Regions from separate parts of the Homo sapiens genome. Here region 2 is linked to region 1. The links are contacts of gene promoters, found by promoter capture Hi-C in human tissues and cell types (Jung and others, 2019). All regions are on one chromosome and are shown on one strand. The core of a region is centred on a gene start or on the middle of the fragment in contact, and the rest is flanking DNA. Distances in the headings are between cores, read along the strand shown. Region 1 holds the start of OIP5 (Opa interacting protein 5). Region 2 overlaps RAD51 (RAD51 recombinase).

Region 1 (3,097 bases), core at 526-3,025:
GCGGGCGGATCAGGAAGTCAGGAGTTCGAGACCAGCCTGACCAACATGGTGAAACCCCATCTCTACTAAAAATACAAAAATTAGCCAGGCGTGGTGACACGCGCCTGTAATCCCAGCTACTCAGGAGGCTGAGGCAGGAGAATCGCTTGAACCCAGGAGGCGGAGGTTGCGGTGAGCCGAGATGGCGCCACTGCACTCCAGCCTGGGCGACAGAGCAAGACTCCGTCTCAAAGAAAAAACAAACAAACAAACAAATAAAAAAAAAATTGTGACGATTGATTTAAGCATTTACTCACTGTCAGTATCACAGCCTGCAGGAGAAACCTCCAGAGTATATAGCAGTATTATGTGGGAAGTCTCAACTATTAACAAAATATATAAAACCGCTATCCTACATTAAATCCCCAAATCTTCTTCTAACATCTTGGGTTTTTTGTTTGTTTTTGTTTTGTTTGAGACTGAGTCTCTCTCTGTCACCGAAGTTGGAGTGCAGTGGTGCGATCTTGGCTCACTGCCACCTCGGCTTCCCAGGTTCAAGCGATTCTTCTGCCTCAGCCTCCCAAGTAGCTGGGATCACAGGCAAAAAGCTTGGATCACAGGCGTGTGCCACCACGCCCGGCTAATTTTTTAAGGGCCAGGCTGGTCTCGAACTCCTGACCTCAGGTGATCCGCCTGCCTCGACCTCCCAAAGTGCTGGGATTACAGGCGTGAGCCACAGCGCCGGGCCAACTCTCCAAACATCTTGTAGCCTCGGAGTCAAAGACCTTACTGGTTTTGATAGAGACCATCAACCCAACAGTCATCAATAAAAATTTACCCAAGGAGGTGCTCCCCTAAAAGTCGATTTTTTTTTTCTGACAGGTCCATCAATAAAGTATCAAGAGATTATCGGCAATATTACAAATCACTGGAGTCTGTTTGGGGTTTTCCAGAAGCTGAGCCAATTATTTACTTAATTGTCTAACGATTAACGACACCCCTTGTGCTTTCTGGGCCTGAGTTTCGTAATCGACGCCCTGAGAGGTATACAGTAATTTCAAAACAAAACAAAACAAAAAACAATAAACCATCCCTCGGAATAGAGCTTATCATGTGAGCACCCAGACAAGCCAGCTTCAAAATGAGGTGAAAACTACAGTTCCTCTTCCGTTTATCAGAGTTCTAACTGGGACTACCGTGAACCACATCTACTGCCCGAGGGGCAGGGAGAGCTGCCTCAGTCCCGGGCTTCCCTCTCGGTCCCTTCGCACCGCATCTCCCCGAGGCCGCTATTCCCGCCGCGCCCGCCCAGGGACCCGCACCGCCAGCGCCGTACCCTCAGGTTGGCCCGGAGACCCAGACTCTTGGCTAAGTTCTGCAGGTCACTGTACTTGAGGGAGTCCAGCTCCTCTAGAGAGGGGATGATCATCGCGATTCGAAATCCCGGCGATACTCGGAAGATGGATCACCAAACTTCGTCAGCGCGGTTCAAATCCCTGGCGCCACTCTTAACTTTGACTAGGCAGAAATTTATAGACAGTTTAAATGAAGAATGCCGCGCTTCCATTGGTTGAAAATGCCTCAAAGGCGGGGTTTCTAACCCTGACCAATAGAAAGGCTGATTTCCCGTCCCAACAGAGGCGCGCTTTTTTCACACTTCACGAATACGCAGGCGCCAAAGGGCCTGTAACGCCTGTTCAGGTAACGAGTGCGCGGACTCGGACTCCAGTGCTTGGATTGCCCATGATGTCCAATGAGGACGCAGGAGCTGTGCTTGGGGCGGGGCCTGGCGTGTATTCGAAAGGAAGGCGCCGGCTGCGGGAAGATGGCGGCTCAGCCGCTGCGGCATCGCTCACGTTGTGCAACGCCGCCCCGGGGGGACTTTTGTGGTGGCACTGAGAGGGCGATTGACCAAGCTTCTTTTACGACCTCCATGGAGTGGGATACGCAGGTGGTGAAGGGGTCCTCGCCGCTCGGCCCCGCAGGGCTGGGGGCTGAGGAGCCAGCCGCCGGCCCGCAGCTGCCGTCTTGGCTGCAGCCTGAGAGGTGCGCTGTGTTCCAGTGCGCACAGTGTCACGCAGTGCTCGCCGACTCGGTGCACCTCGCCTGGGACCTGTCGCGGTCCCTCGGGGCCGTGGTCTTCTCCAGTGAGTGCAGTGAAGCGTTCGGGAAAGGCAGAGGCTAGCCCGAGAGGGTGTTCCCGCTTTCTCCACCGGGTGGCGGAGAACCACCTGGGGAAGAAAACGGGATGAAAAGTTGGAAGCAAATAACTCCTTGGCCTGGGGATGGGGCAGGGAATCGGGGAGTCTCCTGATATTTACGGCCAGGATGAGTCTGTCTAGAGGAGAGATTTTCCATTTCAAGGCCCGCAGAGTATGGGTTCTGACCCGTGTTTGTCTTCCTAGGAGTTACAAATAACGTCGTTTTGGAAGCGCCCTTCCTAGTTGGCATTGAAGGTTCACTCAAAGGCAGGTACGTATTGATAATTACATTGGTCTCTAGTCCCTGACTTTATGAGACTGAGGATCGTGGAACTGACATGTACGAGGAGAAAACAGTTTGGGATGCTGCTTTTACCTGTTTGACTCTTATATGAACTTGATGTATTAATGAAATGAAAAAGTTGTATTTGTGTATTGGTTTTAGGATCTTCCTGAGGGCCACTTCTCCCAGGTGGCTTGTACAAGTGAAGTGAGGCTAAGAAAGATGTATCTAGTAGTGGACAAAAGAAAAAAATAACCTTTTGGTTTACAGTGAGAATAACATACTATAAACTACAATCCTTTTAGATATTAGAACTTTTTGATACAGGGTCTTGCTCTCGCCCAGGCTGGAGTGCACTGGTGCGCTCATAGCTCACTACAGCCCCTACCTTCCTGGCTCAAGCTATCCTCCCAACCTCACCCTCCGGAGTAGCTGGGACTACAGGCACACAGCACCACTCCCGGCTAATTTTTAAATTTTTTGTAGAGGCCTTAGTATGTTGCCCACGCTTGATATTAGAACTTTTAAGTTTGCGATTATGGTTAGTTTGTAATAAGCTATGCCAGGGCTAATTCTTCAGTAACCCCAGAAACTGGAGAAAAACACAACTAGAATGTTATGTACTTGAATACTG
Region 2 (3,464 bases), core at 187-2,686, 630 kb after region 1:
CTAGACACTTACTTCGTATGAAACATAGTCCCAGGGACTCTGAAGGATATGGAGAAAAAGAAGAGCTGATTCCTGCCTCCACAGAGCTTATAACTTAATCAGAAAGATAAACTATACAAAATAACTATAGTACAAGTAGATGTGATGGGTAATATGAGAAGTACTAACAAGCCATGGGAGCTCAAGGAATATAGACTACTTCCTTTGGTGAAAAACAGGAGAATGTATTAGCAAAGACAAAACTGGTAGAAATGGTCAGGCTAGTGGCATGTGCCTATAGTCCCAGCTACTCAGCAGGCTGAGAATTCCTTGAGCCCAGGAGTTTGAAGCTGAAGCTGCAGTGAGCTTTGATCATGCCACTGCACTCCAGCCTGGGCAACAGAGTGAGACTTTTCTTTTTTTTCTTTAAAAAAAAAAAAAAAAGGTGGGCACAGTGGCTAGTGCCTGTAATTTCAGCACTTTGGGAGGCTGAGGTGGGCAGATTGCTTGAGGCCAGGAGTTTGAGACCAGCCTGGGCAACATGGTGAAACCCCGTCTCAACTGAAAATACAAAAATTAGCCACGTGTGGTGGTGGGAGCCTGTAATCCCAGCTACTTGGGAGGCTGAGGCACGACAATCACTTGAACCCGGAAGGCAGAGGTTGCAGTGAGCAGAGCCAAAATTGCACCATTGTGCTCCAGCCTGGGTGACACAGCGACACTCTGCCTCAAAAAAAAACAGAAAACAAACAATACAATCATAATCTTTACTGGCCAGAAACAAAGAACATAAAATATTGAAAAGTAAAGACACGTAAGTCTATACCATATTGCATCTCAAATCATGTATTCTAGGTTTGCATTGTTGTGTTCATAGAAACAGAGAAGTGACTTGATTTCTGAAACCAAGATCTCGCAAGGCAAAAAGAAAAGATCCTGTCAGCATTTGTTCATTCACAAAAACTGATACCCAAAAAGCGAAAACAGAAAGACTTTAGGGACCCCTACTGGCTTAGTCAATATGACAATCTTTTAACAAAAATACTGTTAGGGACTCAGAACCCTTATTTCCAATTAAGCAACCACTTCAGCAAATATTCATTTGAGTAATCCAATAAATTTATCTAACGCTAACAGTAATCGATACGTGAAAATACAATTTTATAAATAAATATTTGCGGTGGGGCGCGGTGGCTCACACCTGTAATCCCAGCACTTTAGGAGGCTGAGGTGGGCAGATCACAAGGTCAGGAGATCGAGACCATCCTGGCCAACGTGGTGAAACCCTGTCTCTAATAAAAATACAAAAATTAGCTGGGTGTGGTGGCACATACCTGTAGTCCCAACTACTCGGGAGGCTGAGGCAGGAGAATCACTTGAACCTGAGAGGCGGAGGGTGCAGTAGACCAAGATCACGCTATTGCACTCCAGCCTGGCAACAGAGCGAGACTCCGTCTCAAAAAAAAAAAAAAAAAAAAAAAAAATCTGCTTTATACTACATAAAACTTCAAGGGTAAAGGCAATAAAACTGTGTAACTATATAAACACTGAAGAAATAGGTTCATAAAACAAAATGTAACCATGGGGAAGTATGTATGTTAAAGAACTATATGAAGCTAGAAAAATAAATAGGCCAGGCACAGTAGCTCACACCTATAATCCAGCACTTTGGGAGGCTGAGGTAGGTGAATCGCCTGAGCTCAGGAGTTCGAGACTACCCCGGCATGGTGGCATGTGCCTGTAGTGTAGTCCCAGCTACTTGGGAGGCTGAGGTGAGAGGATCGCTTGAGCTTGGGAGGTGAAGGTTGCAGTGAGCTGAGATGGCACCACTGCACTCCACCCTGTGTGACAGAGCGAGAACCCGTCTCCAAAAAAAAAAAAAAAGAAAGAAAAAAAAAAGAAAAGAAAAGAAAAGAAGAAAAGAAACAGGTAACAGTCACCCCTGGAAAGGATAATGAGATGACCGAAGAATAAGAGATAGAAGGAAGAAGTCTTTCACTACATTCCCTTTTGTACTATTCCCACTAATGCCTCCCTAGGTTAAGTAAGCAGTACTTACCAGAATTTTATCAGCTTTGGCTTCACTAATTCCCTTAATATTTATTAGCTCCTTCTTTGGCGCATAGGCAACAGCCTCCACAGTATGGAATCCAGCTTCTTCCAATTTCTTCACATCGTTGGCATTTATGCCACACTGCTGCAAATGAAGAAAACCATGGATAAATTTAAGCTTTAGTTCTCTAATCTAACACAGATGTTATGTGTCCTACATACTTCACAGAGGTGCTTGAAGACTTGTAATACAACTGTCCCTTGAAATCCTTGGGGGGGCGGGGGGAGATGGGAAGTTGGTTCCAGGACCCCCAGCAGATAACAAAATCCAACAATGCTCAAGTCCCTTATATAAAATGGCGTATTACCTGCATATAACCTATGTACATCCTCCTGTATACTTTTTTTTGATATGTAGTTGATTGAATTTTTGATACGTAGTTTGTTGAATTTGCTGATACAGAATCCGGAGATACAGAGAGCCTACTGTTATTATATGCAAAAGCTGAAAAATGAGCCCTATATATGAGGTACTTAATAACAAATTAACAACCTTTTCATTATCAAAATCAATAATTTTAAACTAGCACTAAGCCATGTACATTAAAAAGAACTCCTATTAGCAATTGGAATTAAAAAGTAACTCCCAACCTTTTTTTGTGACCCTAAATGATCTCTGAGACCTTGGGCCCTACAAGACCACTTTAAGACAGTGTTGCTCAACACTTTCCACATCAAGCACACATAAAAAACTGTATTTTTACACTATGGTAGGGTAAATAGATAAGGCTGCTCAGAATATAAAGAGCACTATCTTGGCCTGTCAATACTTTTTGTTGAACAATGACCAGAAAGCTCTGCTCTAACAACTGACATTAACAGTGAGGAAAACTACTTTTTGTCAGGGACTTTTATACCTCTTCTCAAAACAAACCACCCAAAGACACCTCTTTCTTCCTATATTCAAGTCAGCTTTGGTTTCATTAGCCACCAAAACCATGACTTCTGGGAAAACATGAGTTAGTAGGTGAATGTGGGTGCATTCAGGGGTTGGGAGAATTTAGAAGAGGGGAGAGATTAGTTTGCCAACATAAGCCATGTCTGCTATTAATATTTAAGCAATATGCATGTTTGAGTATAAGGATGCTCATGGCACCAGAAGTTATGACTCTGAACTTTCAAATGTTTATCACAAATCCATTTAAGTAACTTCTAGAGTCTTTTTTTTTTATTAGCCTTTTGCACTCCTAACTTCTAGAGTCTTGAAGATTAGTCAGAGATGGGAAATATGAAAAAAAGAGACAGAAGAATCAAGTCTTTCTCTGCTTTCCTCCTACTTAGCCCAAATCAGCTGCACTCACAGGGCAGTCTCTATACAATGGGCAGAAATAGTGTAAGGCCTCAGCTCTGGTGCTTAATGTTCTTGTGCAGAA

The links. Contacts are between HindIII fragments. The study calls those that stand out against the background at their distance.
Region 2: a fragment that was not itself captured here is called in contact with the fragment with the promoter of OIP5 in region 1 in 1 of the 25 tissues and cell types used here (mesenchymal stem cells).

What each region holds. Positions count from the first base shown.
Region 1 is chr15:41,331,269-41,334,365 of GRCh38, reverse strand. OIP5 (Opa interacting protein 5) reads left to right here and starts at 1,775. Exons shown (of 5, transcript NM_007280.2): 1 at 1,775-2,126; 2 at 2,385-2,451. The coding sequence starts at 1,805. NUSAP1 (nucleolar and spindle associated protein 1) reads right to left here and starts at 1,485. Exons shown (of 11, transcript NM_016359.5): 1 at 1,316-1,485. The coding sequence starts at 1,408. RefSeq lists an enhancer at 1,762-2,021. The HindIII fragment of the contact is 6,722 bases long and covers 1-3,097 here.
Region 2 is chr15:40,699,776-40,703,239 of GRCh38, reverse strand. RAD51 (RAD51 recombinase) reads right to left here. Exons shown (of 10, transcript NM_002875.5): 3 at 2,039-2,176. Among named protein-coding and RNA genes, the nearest start is that of RAD51, 6.3 kb to the right of the region's middle. The HindIII fragment of the contact is 3,762 bases long and covers 1-3,317 here.